2 separate regions of the Homo sapiens genome follow, and region 2 is linked to region 1. Evidence: promoter capture Hi-C in 16 types of primary human blood cells and fetal thymus (Javierre and others, 2016). All regions are on one chromosome and are shown on one strand. The core of a region is centred on a gene start or on the middle of the fragment in contact, and the rest is flanking DNA. Distances in the headings are between cores, read along the strand shown.

Region 1 (6,713 bases), core at 2,993-5,492:
AAGAATCTAATATTGAAAGTTTTTATCAGTAAATATTTATTGAATTGGCAAAAATGGATGAACTTTGCTGAAGGAAAATAAGCAAATTGCAATGAAAAGCAAGCATGGTTGCATTATCACTGAGATTGCTGTTCGTACCACTTTTGCTCTGCAGTATTTAGGATTTCTACCACCGACTCAGCACTATACTTTTTTTTACCGTGCATTAGTGAACTATGCTTGTATACGTGTCTTAATTGAAATGCAGATCTGTACTGTCCACTACCATAGCACTAGCTACATGTGGCTACTGAACGCTTGAAATATAGTTAATCTGAGGCCGGGTGCAGTGGCTCACGCCTGTAATCCCAACACTTTGGGAGGCCGAGGTGGGCATATCACCTGAGCTCAGGAGTTTGAGATTAGCCTGGCCAACATGGTGAAACCCTGTCTCTACTAAAAATACACAATTAGCCAGGCGTGGTGGTGCATGCCTCTAGTCCCAGCTACTTGGGAGACTGAGGCAGGAGAATAACTTGAACCCGGGAGGCGGAGGTTGCAGTGAGCCGAGGTAACGCCATTGTACTCTAGCTTGGGTGACAAGAGCAAAATTGTCTCGGAAAAAAAAAAGAAAGAAAGAAATATAGTCTGAGAAGTGCTGTAAATAATACACGCCAGATTATAGAATAGACTTGGTTTGAGAAAAGGAATAATAAATACCTCATTAATATTTTTATATTGATTACATGCTGAGAAAACATTTTGGATCTATTGAACTAAATAAAATTATTAAAATTAATTTCACTTGTTTCTTTTTACCTTTTTAATATGGCTACTAGAAAATTTAAAATTACATATGACCTTGCATATGAGGCCCACATTATATTATATTTCCATTGGACAGTGTTGATTTAGGGCTGGGCTCTCTTTGGAGTTCTGCACACAGTTAGGCTTAGGAAGTATTTTGATTGGTTTCTTGATTAAGTCCCTCTGGGAAGACGACAAATTGAAAGATTTTTTCTTTCAAATTTTAGATTGCTCTATCATTGGTATTTAAGTTTTGTGTGGAGTTGGGCTGTACACAATGTATTTGCCATCATGGAGACTAGAACCACGCCAGTGACTAAGTTTGCTTAGGCCTCTTTGAAGTACCTTAGATGAAGGTTTGGGCCCTGATACTGTTACTCTCATGTGAATGCTTCTTTTCATTATATCAATCTCTCAATTCCTTTCCAAACAATCTTTTTCTACCATATCCTACTCTCTTTCCTTTAAAAAATATAATCTGCTTTCCCTTTTTATGGGCACTATTATCTCATGTGATCAGAGTCTAGTTTCAAACTGTGGCCAAGTTACTTAACCTCCCTGAGCCTCACTTTCTTCATTTTTAAAATGGGGGTGACAAAACTAGTCACTCACAGTGTTGTAGCCAAGACTAAATGGATTAATACCTAGAAGGTGCTTAGAACAGGGCCAGGCAAATGACAAGAACTGAGGAAGTGTCAGCTGTTTGTGTCCTCCTCTCTTTCCTTATTCCTTCAGCTTTCGTCTGCTCAGCTCTTGCCATCCCGCCCACACATCTTCACTTTTGAGGAACTGTAATAAATTAAACAACAGGCGTCTTACTCTCCTCTACTGTGGACCCCTACAAAGCTTAGTGTTGTCTTCTGAGATGGCTGGGCTGTTTGGGCCCTGTGCCCCTCCTGGGGAGATGGACCCTCACACTCTAATTTAGAAGCTAGGTCTTAGATGAGGAGAGGGGGTTCCTCCCTCTTTTAGGTCTTAGCAGATAACACTCTGGGTGTGCTTGTCGATGCGTCTGGGGAGCAGGTATGGCAGATGGCCTCTCCAAGCGAAGCGGGCTGGAACAGACAGCAGCCAGCCTTGGAGAGAAGCACGTATGGACAAGAATGAACTGTTTTGTAAACCAGAAAAAAAGTTTTATGTATCACATGTTATGCTCTCTTGGTATTTCATTATACTCCAGTCTTTAACAAAAAGGTGCAGAGGAGGGGAAAAAAGGGTGCTCTGGGAAATGAAGAGATGTATTTAAGAAGAATAAAGGTATCATCCTCACTAAATTGCAGATTGGAATTTCTACGTGTTAGGGGGGTGTTAGTCAATTGCGGGGAGCTTGACTGCTGGGTGATCAGGCCCAGATCCTGGAAGTCCCACTGTATGTTTTTTCTTTTGGACCTGTTACTCCAGGGGGGAACCCCCATCTGTCCTTTCTTGGGGAGAGGTTGGGGAATATGCTGGCTACAGCAATAGAAGAGGCCTCAGGTCCTCACATTTCAGTAAATGGACATCTACTTCATACCCATGTTCAGTAACCGCCCCCCCCCACCCCACACCCCAGCAAGCTAAGACTGGGGTCCTGTGATCTGGAGCCCTATGGTTCAGCATTTCTCTGGAACAATCTTCCTATCCCCCAACTAGTTGCTGCCTAGTATCAGCTTCCTATCCTTAAGGGGAAGGGCAGAAAGTAAGGATTCTTCCCCACCAGAAAATTGTAGTGCCAGAAGGAAAAGGAGAGGTTAACTATGATCCAAAGAAACAGAAAACCGGTGAATGGCTACCAAATGCTCACCATGTCCTAGAAAGAAACAATTCGTTTGAAACGTCAAACACTTACTATGGGTCAAACACTGAGAAGCTCTTACCATATCATCAAATCCTCGGGCAATAATCCTTGAGGCAAGCTTGAGAAATTCCATTCTACAGCTGAAGAAATCAAGGTTGGTGTGGCCAAGAGATATGGAAAAACCAAGTCACTCATCTTTGCCAGAGCTGAGAGTCAAGCCAGGATGGTCTGTCCATCTCTTAACCAGTACACTACCCATTAAATTAGCGCTGGCAACTATAGTGTGGGCTCAGGGAGGACAGCATCTAGGTATTTGACACAGAGGTGAGATAATGGTGATCTTTCCCTCTATCTGGGCTGGTCAAGATGTGGCCATCTCTGGAGGCTCCCAGGGCCTAAATAAGAGGCCTAGAAGACCTGGGATTGTCCCTGTAGCTCCCCATCTTGGAGTCAGCCTGCATTCATGGGGCAGGAGCCCTGAACCTGCATCAGGTTCCTTCTTTCTCAGGTAAGGAAAAAACTTAGAGCTGATAAGGCAGCACCACATTTTGCAGCCCCATTTTGGAGAGACATCTTTTTATTAGGACTTTGTAAGTCACTGCAGTAGTCTCCTAGGTCTCATTTATTGAATATTTAGATTTTTATTCCTGTTCTGTGACGCCCTTTTCATCTGCCTAAAAAAAAAAAAAGAAAAGAAAAAAGAAAAAGAAAAGAAAAGAAAGAGAAATCTTCCTAACACAGTCTTAAATACAGAAGGCTATGCACAATCTTACTTGTCCTACACTGCACAGCAAATCAAGCACTCACAGGCCTTCAGGTGCACCTGCCTGGTTTCCCTCCTCTTGGCTAGGGAAGTACTGGGGCAAGTGGGCAGTTTCTTTTTCAAATTTCCACTTATACCTGACCTTAGGTGGTGCCTATTCAACACTTACAGAATGAATGAAACAAAAAGGCTCATTTAGAGTGGGCGCTAAACAATGTGTACACATGGACTTAGTGGAATAGTAGACACTGGAGACTCCAAAAGGTGGGAGGGTGGGAGAGGGATGAGGGATGAGAAATTACCTATTAGATACAATGTACAACATTCGGGTGACAGTTACACTAAGAGCCCAGATGCCACCACAATGCAATATACCCATGGAACAGAACTGCACTTGTAACCCCTAAATCTATTTTTTAAATGATACCCCCCAAAAAGCAGTTTGGGGTCTGAGAGTAAGGGAGGGAGAGGGAGAATGAGAGGCGGGAAGTGGGGTGGGGAGAGACAGGCGGGGAGGTTCCGGTGTGAAGTTGTTTCCGCGCAAAAGAAGGAGAGCGGCTGGCGGGGCAGACATAGGTGTCAGGAGGACAGGAAAGGGGACAGGACCAGGAGGCTGGCGCTTACCCCAGGAGGATGAGGAACCGCGGGTCCGTGGCCAGGTTGGCGTCAATGGTGACGGACAGGAACGAGGGGCTCACCAGGTGCAGCGGCTCCTGGGTGAAGAAGTCCAGGTCCACGACGTCCTGTGCTTGCGCAGGTCGGGGCAGGGCGCCAGGGGAGAGGGGACCCAGCGGCCCCAGGAGCAGCAGCATCAGCGGCGGCGGCAGCGCAGGCTTCGAGCGCAGCAGCATCTTGGGCTCACCTGGCTGCTCCCCCCGCCAGCTGCCGCGCAGCGGAGAGTCGAGAGCTCTAGCACTTCCTCCCGCCGAGCCCCAGCGCCCTTTTCTCCTTTCCTCCGCCCCGTTACGCCTCCTCACCCCTCCCACTGCGCCCTCCATCCCTCCCACTCCTCTTCTGCATCCCTCCCACTGCTCCCAATCCAACCCCGCCCCGCCTGCCCGGCTCTCTCCTACTTCCTTGCTCGCTTTCCCCTCGGTGGCGGTCACGTTCACTTACGAAATCACCCACACCCACTTGAAGGGTGCGGAGATGGCCGGGATCCAAGCGCCCGGGAGGCCTGGGGAGGAGCGCCCGGGGAGGAGCGCCCGGGGAGCAGCGCTGGGCATCCCGGACCAGGCTTCCTGACGCACGTGTTCTGCGCGCTCTCGTGGGAACCCAGCGTTTCCGACTCCCAGATCCCATTCTGATGGCGCCGGGTATCCCTCTGACCCTCGAGTAAAACCTCCAATGGAGTATTCATCCCTTCCTCTCCCATCTAGCTTATAAACACTTGCTTGTCACTTGAGCCAGCCAAAATCTGATTGTCCTCTGGCCAGGCAGTTTCTCAGGTATTTTACTTTTGCTTGAAAAAATCTGGCCTCAGCATACGCTAAACTGCAGCTGGAAAGAGATCAACCACCCAAAATTCTTTATCAACTTCTCATTAAGACAATATTTAGCAATCTTAAAGGGTTAGTTGCTCCAATGTCTGGAACTCAGGACCTGAAGCCCCCATACAAAGTGTAGAGTACGGACTGCCCCTGAATTTGGAGCCTTTGCCAAATTTCTCCTCTGCGCATTTATCTTTCGCTGTTGGTCAGACTTTTCTTCAGCTTTTCCTTGATGCTTACACTGATGTATAATCATAGCAAGCATCGCACGCTTAGTGCCTACTGTATGCCTGATACAGGTGCTTTACTTGTGTTCTCTTCCCTTCTCACAACCCTGCCAAGTGCATACTGTCCTTGTTTTACACATGCGGACCCAAGCTCTGAGACAGTAACTGGGTGAAGTGTCAGAATCGGGATGTGAAGTGTCAGAATCGGGATGTGAATGCAGTTACAAAACCTCGAGCAGATGGCAGTGTGTTTCAGCTGAAATGTAACTTCCCTCAAGGAAGCTTTCTCTCAATCTCCAGGCAGCTCTCCATGACACACTCTCATAGCATCCTCAATTTGTTAGACACTCTCGTAGCATCCTCAATTTGTTAGACACTCTCGTAGCATCCTCAATTTGTTAGTATTGTGATGTTGCTCAACATTGGCTTCATCTACTAGATTATATGCTCCACCAAAACAGAGATTAAGTTTGTCTCACACGCTATGCTAGCCATAGCTCAGGCATGTGATCATGTTGGTGCTTAGTAAGAGTCTAATAAATATTGGTTGAGTAAGCAAATAACACCAAAACCCTTAGATTTTTCCACTTGAGATTGTACCACCAATAAGGCAACAAATAAAAATAGATTATTTTGAAATGCATATCTAATTTGCATAAATCAGGCCAGGCATGGTATGTGATGCCAGTGATGCCATCATGCCTGTGATGCCAGCATTTTGGGAGGCCAAGGTGGGAGGATTGCTTGAGCCGAGGAATTCAAGAACAGCCTGGGCAACATGATGAAACCCCATCTCTACAAAAAATACAAAAAATTAGCCAGGCGTGGTGGCCCGTGCCTGTGGTTCCAGCTACTGGGGAGGCTGAGGTGGGAGGTTTATTTGAGCCTGGGAGGTGGAGGTTGCAGTGACCCTTAATCACACCACTGCACTCCAGCCTGGGTGACAAAGTGAGACCCTCTCTTAAAATAATAATAATAATTATCATTATTTGCATAGATCTACCTATTCTTAAGCAACTTAAAAGCTAAGCTCATAGTGAGTTTTGCAACTAGAATCAGGTTCATATCCTACAATTACTGTATACATATGAAAAAAAATTCACACATAAACACCACACTACCAGAAGAGTGTAATAATATGGTAGCAGACGTGGAGTTGGAAAAACAGAAGTTTCTTTTCCACATTTGTCATGACATTAATCTTACACCCCACCCCATGCCCCTGACTCCTGTTGTGAGTCAACAGTCATACCAATTTCTTTCTTTTTTTTTTTTTTTGAGACGGAGTCTCGCTCTGTCGCCCAGGCTGGAGTGCAGTGGCACCATCTCGGCTCACTGCAAGCTCTGCCTCCTGGATTCACGCCATTCTCCTGCCTCAGCCTCCCGAGTAGCTGGGACTACAGGGGCCTGCCATCACCCCCGGCTAATTGTTTTGTATTTTTAGTAGAGATGGGATTTCACCATGTCTGTCAGGATGGTCTCAATCTCCTGACCTCGTGATCTGCCCGTCTCAGCCTCACAAAATGCTAGGATTGCAGGCATGAGCCACTGTGCCATGCCCAGTCATACCAATTTCTTTAACATGTTTGGGTGATTTGAAAAGTGGACCATTGCAAGTTTTCTAAATAGTGCATCCTTGTGGTCTACATGTGAGTTACTAATATGGAAAC
Region 2 (6,713 bases), core at 1,074-3,573, 110 kb after region 1:
ATAGTGCCTAGCACACAGTAGGTGATCAATATTTTTTTGAATGAACAATTATAAAATGCTATAACCTGCTTAAATATTATTGCTGTTGAAATTTTTTAAATACTTTTTAAGATTTGACCTTTATAGTTAATTTTTCCATATATAAGGTAAATATTGCAATAGCATATCAATAGTAGGTTATGACATTTAGAATAAATTTTTCATAAACTTTAAAGACTACCTGATGCTGCAAAATAGCTCCTTAAACTGACCTATTTAAATGTATCGCTTTACAATATTATTATTATAATATTTATGTTATATGTATTATTATGGTGATGATGATGATGGCCACAGTAGCAGCAGCAAACCCTTACTGAATGCAGTGTGCTAAGCACTGCTGAATGCAATACATGTGTTAACTCACACTATCCTTACAACAATCCCATCAGGCTGGTACCATTATTATCCTTGTTTTACAGATAAAGAAACATAGAGGTTGAGGGATGTGCCTGGGCACACATAGCTAGTAAGTGGCGGATAATAATAGAGGACTTCTTCAAATACCAATTTCATTTACCTTCAAAATTCTATTCATTAGAAATTTTAAAACAAAGGCAAAAAGCTTAAGTATCTTGCTTTAGGTTACATACTGTAGCTAGTGATAGAATTAAGTATTTTATAAGTCTCTTGATTATAAATCAATTCATGACCTCATTTGAAAAAATACTTACTGCTAGTGTAGAGGATTTTTGCTAGGGTCATTTCCAGTGTAGCTCCACGGCTTCCTTCACCAATCATGTGCAACTTCGAGATTTTTTTTAAAAAGGACAGAGAAGTAAATCTTCATATAGTGCTCATATAAAACATGCATATATTCATATGAAATTTGTTTGTAAAGAGTTGCTTATAACTTTTAAGTATTTTGAATATAACAACTATAATACATGTATATTATTTCACTGGTATTTAGGTTAATGAGCTTTTGGTACAAAATCCTTATAAATCTGGGATTCATAAGTACTACTAAAAAAATTTTTTTTTTAAACGGAGTTTGGCTCTTGACCCCCAGGCTGGAGTGCAATGGCGTGATCCTAGCTCACTGCAACCTCCACCTCCTGGGTTACAGCGATTCTCCTGCCTCAGCCTCCCGAGTGGCTGGGATTACAGGCGCCCACCACCACGCCCGGCTAATTTTTGTATTTTTAGTAGAGACAGGGTTTCACCTGTTGGCCAGGCTGGTCTTGAACTCCTAACATCAAGTGATTCACCTGCCTCGGCCTCCCAAAGTGCTAGGATTACAGGCATGAGCCACCACGCCCAGCCAATAAAATTGTATACTACACACATACGTGTTCACACTTCAAGAAACACTTGACACAAAACCAAATTTAAGATTATCAAGCATAGAATGTCTTCACCTATATTGTCTATATTTTCAAATAAATTTATTTTTATAGAGGTACTAAGGTACTAAGTAGATCCACACAATAACCAGAATAATAAATATTTAGTATAATAAAAATATTGACAAATTACAAAAGTATTAACCAACCTCGTCTACAACAACCAGACCCAGACTGTCAATTCTTCCAGTTTCAATCAAGGAGTTCACCAAGCTATGTCCTTTTTCAATAGTGGCAATATAGAGTGATTTCTTTTCCCTTCTTTTAGTTGGAGGAAATCTTCCTTTGCTTCCAGCATATTCTTCAACAAAGAAACCGAGTTCTATACCAAAACTTGACAAACCTGAAATCTAGAATATTAGTTAAAATAAAGAAAAATTGGCCAGGCATTGTGGCCAATGCCTGTAATCCCAGTACCTTGGGAGGCTGAGGCGGGAAGATCACTTGAGCCCAGGAAGGTGAGACCAGCCTGGGCAACACAGTGAGACCTCATCTCTATAAAAAATAAAAAATTCGCTGGCTGTGGTGGCACAGGCCTGTAGTCTCAGCTACTTGGGAAGCTGAGGTGGGAGGACTGCCTGAGTCCAGAGAATTGAGGCTGCAGTAAGCCTTGGTCATGCCACTGCACTCCAGCCTGGGCGACAGAGCAAGACCCTGACTCAAAAATAAATAAATAAACAAAACCAAAAAACACAAGTAAAAAACCCCCCATTAGGTGCTCATGGGGTTCAAAAAAGCTAAAGTAGTGTTTAATACCCATCAACAGGAACAAGGTCACAGGCAAGACATACGTAAGAAATGCTGTAATGTCTCGATCTTTGCAAAATAAATGCAACTTCTAAAATACATGTGAAAATAAATTTCAACTGGCGCCTTTGATACCAAAAAGCATCAGGGGTGTGTTGGCTCATGCCTGTAATCTCAGCATTTTAGGAGGCTGAGGCAGGTGGATCACTTGAGGACAGGCGTTTGAGATCAGCCTGGCCAACATGGCGAGACATCATCTCTACCAAAAATAAAAAAATTAGCCGGGCGTGGTGGCGTGTGCTTGCGATTCTGGCTGCTGGGTGGGGTCGTGGGGCATGAGAATTACTTGAGTCTGGGAGGTGGGGGTTGCAGTGAGCTGAGATCATGCCACTGCACTCCAGCCTGGGTGATAGAGCAAGACTGTCTCAAAAAAAAAAAAAAAAGCATCAGAATAACTCATTTTAGTAATAGTTTCTGCTTGAAAAAGCAAGGTAAGGCCGGGCACAGTGGCTCACACCTGTAATCCCAGCACTTTGGGGGGCCGAGGTGGGAGGATCACTTTAGGTCAGAAGTTCGAGACCAGCCTGTCCAACATGATGAAAACCCATCTCTACTAAAAATACAAAAATTAGCCAGGCATGGTGGCACACACCTGCAATCCTAGCTACTTGGGAAGCTGAGGCAGGAGAATCACTTGAACCCAAGAGGCGGAGGTTGCAGTGAGCAGAGATTGTGCCACTGCACTCCAGCCTGGGCGACAGAGGGAGACTACATCTCAAAAAAGAAAAAGCAGGGTAAATAGTAATAGAACATTTAAGATGATGTTTAATCCACCAGTTTAGAAAAAGTAAAACTTTCAACAACTGGTAATTAGTATTTGAAGATATTTTAGGTAGTGTATACTGCTTTTATACATTCTAAAAATATTAATTCTCCATCATTAAGAGGTACTTCTCACCAGGCGCAGTGGCTCATGCCTGTAATACCAGCACTTTGGGAGGCTGAGGCGGGTGGATCACTGGAGATCAGGAGTTTGAGACCAGCCTGGCCAATATGGTGAAACCCCGCCTCTACTAAAAACACAAAAATTGGCTGGGTATGGTGGCATGGGCCTGTAATCCCAGCTACTCAGGAGGCTGAGGCAGGAGAATCGCTTGAACCTGGGAGGCGGAGGTTGCAGTGAGCCAAGATGGTGCCACTGCACTCCAACCTGGGTGACAGAGCAAGACTCCATCTCAAAAAAAAAAAAAAAGAGGTACTTCTCAACAATACAAAGTTATCACATTTACAGATCTTAACGTCAAAGTACTAGCAAATAACATTTGTTTTAAAACATACACACACACACACCTTTTCTTGGACAATTGCCACATATGGAAGAATCATTAAAACATCTTTCCGACAGCAAAGCAGTTCTTGCAGCATTAAAATCTCAGCCACGAGGGTTTTTCCACCACTTGTTGGCAAGGAATATATTAAATTTTTTCTTTCTTGCACAGAATTCAATGTTAAACAAGTATGTTGCCATTCTGTGGAATTAAAAAAAAAAAGGCATTATTTTCCCCTTCCAAACTTTGAAACTCAAAAGTTTTCTAAGAAAAAAAATCAAATCCCTTCCTGTGGAGCAATCCTCTCATAAGGATAAATTTAATTATAACCAATGTTACATGTCAAAAATCCCAAATGTGCAAGTAGTACAGCCAGTGAGAGCCTAGTTCAGGCCTAGGCAGCAAGGTGGGCAACCAGCCCATTTATTCACCAGCTGCAGACTTGGGTCCAATATTACAGCAGGGCAGGTAGCAGCCTCGTGGACAAGGAGTGCCATCTGAGATATCAGAGGAACAAAGGGACAGTACAAGGACCTGTGTGAATTCGAATGTCTTCCTCTTATGTTCTGCAAGGAGATTATATAAGCTTCCCTTCCTCATTCAGCCAAAAGCCATCTCAGAGAGAAGCAGGGGAAGGAGGGAAACAAATCTATTAGGTTTTACACAAACTAATAAAAACTTTAACTAGCTCTCATGGAGACCTGAACTTCGAATGGGTCCAAAACCATTTTAAACTGTTAAAACTCTTTAAACCACAAAAGACTAGGATTATTAACTGACACGCCTAGGATTCCCACAATTTGGCAAGGCGGGATTCATGAAAATAGATCAGATCCAAGATACCGTGTGAAAACTAGTATTAATTACTCTGTAGGATAATCTGACAATAAAAATCATCAGAAGTCTTTAAAAATGTGCTTCAGTGTTTTATCACTAGAAAAATGGGCAAAAAATTTAAGACATTTCACAGCAGACGGCAAATGGCCAATAAATACATGGCCAATAAGCAGCAGAAATGCAAATGGCCAATAAATACATGAGAAGATGCTCAGCTGTTCTCTACTGGGTTGGCAAAATAAATTTTTAAAATAAAAAACAAATAACTATCAAAAAAAAAAAAAGCCCCACACATGCAAAATCCAGAGCTGACTAATGTGGGGAAAAACAGCCATTTTCATGTACGGTTGTGAGAACATAAACTGCTAGAATCCTTGTGGAAAGTAACCTAGTATAAAATAGAACTGCACATTGCCTTTGATCTGGTAGTATTACTTTTGGGATTCTACATCTATAGAACGGAAGCCAAAGCATATAAAACACAGCATTGTTTGTAGGTAACAAAGTGCCATGGTGGTGGGGGTAAAGGCCGAATGAATTATTGTACAATCAACCAATGAGATTCTTTGCAGTTTAAAAATGAAGAATAGATGGATCTATGTATGTTCAATATACAGTTAAGTTTAAAAAAAAAAAAAAAAAAAAAAAAAAAAAAAAGCAGATCATTGCCCCGGAGTGGTGGATCATGTCTGTAATCCCAGCACTTTGGGAGCCTAAGGCAAGAGGATCACTTGAGACCAGGATTTCAAGATGAGCCCATCTCTATTAAAAAAAAAAAAGAAAGTTATATCTGAATGACAGTTACAAGTAACTTTAACTTATTGTGCTTTTGGGTGATTCCCAAATACTACAAGTGACTGTGAATATTTTCTTTAAAAATATTTCAAAAATACTTAAATTTAATATTCAATAAATATTGAAAAATACTTCAGATTGGTATCACCCGAGTTATCAAATTAGATGTTTATGCCAAAGTATAACTTAACCATAGCCACATTTTATCCAATTCAGATTTTTAAGCATAACATGACAAAATAACTAATATTTATGAATACAATCTTCACATCAAAAAAAAAAAAAAAAACTAGCCGGGTACAATGGCTCATATCTGTAATTCCAACCCTTTGGGAGGCTGAGACAGCAGGACTGCTTAAGCCCAGGAGTTCAGGACCAGCCTAGGCAACAAAATGAGACCCTATCTCTACAAAATATAAAAAAATTAGCTGGGTATGGTGGCGCATGCCTATAGTCCCCACGACTTGGGAGGCTGAAGTGGGAGGATTGCTTGAGCCTGGGAGGTTGACGCTGTAGTGAGCCACGATCACAGATTGCCAGGTCGTATTCCTAGAGGTTCTGACGCAGTAGGTCTAGGGAAGTGTCTGAGAACATGCACTTCAACAAATTTCCAGGTGATGTTGATGCTGCAGTCCAGGAACCACACTTGAGAACCACCGCTTTAGCTTAATAAAAAGTAGCACATGCATTTATGCTTTAATCTGGTCATGTTATTAAGCCAGATTTAGAGGTAAAAAGATTTAAAAAGTTGTTATTTACTGAAGTTCTTACTTAGAAGCTACCAATGTAATTACTGACAATCATTACCAACATCTAATTTGGCATGTCCTTAACACAGACTCTAACTTGCAAAAAAAAATTATCCCTTTTTATAGATGAGGAACTAGGCCCAAAGTGCTAAGGTTGCATTTTTAAGTGACAATCCCCAGCAGTTGAGAACCTACCAGAGTATACCAGGCACAGTGCTAGTTAAGAAAAAGATGAGTTAGGCCGGGCTCGGTGGCTCACGCCTGTAATCCCAGCACTTTGGGAGGCTGAGGCAGGCGGATCACAAGGTCAGGAGATCGAGACCATCCTGGCTAACACGGTGAAACCTTGTCTCTACTAAAAATACAAAAAAAAAATTAGCCGGGCGTGGTGGCGGGCGCCTGTAGTCCCAGCTACTGGGGAGTCTGATGCAGGAAAATGGCGCGAACCCAGGAGGCGGAGCTTGCAGTGAGCTGAGATGCGCCACTGCACTCCAGCCTGGGCAACACGCGAGACTCCGTCTCAAAAAAAAACAAAAAAACAAAAACAAAAACAAAAAGATGAGTTAGATAGAGCCTTGTCCTCAGGATATTCATTCTGGCAGACTAAACAAAAAGCAAGGTGCTAGCAGAAAAACAGAGGGAAGAACAGAGGGAAGAAAGTTAACGTCTACTTCCAGGGCAACACACACCATTAGCTCTTAAGTCATGAACCTCACAATTTGGATTCTTGTAGAGTCTTTTATTAGACTTTGTTTCCTGTAGTTCTGCTTCTCCAACCTGATTGTCTTCTCTGCAAGAACCCAAGTTTTCATATCATTCATAAGATCCTAACAGGAGTTCCAGAAAACTTACGAAGTGGAAGGTTGATGGGG

The links. Contacts are between HindIII fragments. The CHiCAGO score rates a contact against its expected background, and 5 or more counts as called.
Region 2: a fragment that was not itself captured here is called in contact with the fragment with the promoter of HPSE in region 1 in 1 of 17 cell types (megakaryocytes); the score reaches 5.9 in megakaryocytes.

What each region holds. Positions count from the first base shown.
Region 1 is chr4:83,330,606-83,337,318 of GRCh38, forward strand. HPSE (heparanase) reads right to left here and starts at 4,243. Exons shown (of 12, transcript NM_001098540.3): 1 at 3,951-4,243. The coding sequence starts at 4,177. The HindIII fragment of the contact is 2,644 bases long and covers 2,680-5,323 here.
Region 2 is chr4:83,445,301-83,452,013 of GRCh38, forward strand. It overlaps HELQ (helicase, POLQ like), which reads right to left. Exons shown (of 18, transcript NM_133636.5): 3 at 3,483-3,661; 4 at 1,535-1,735; 5 at 714-786. Among named protein-coding and RNA genes, the nearest start is that of HELQ, 7.2 kb to the right of the region's middle. The HindIII fragment of the contact is 3,442 bases long and covers 603-4,044 here.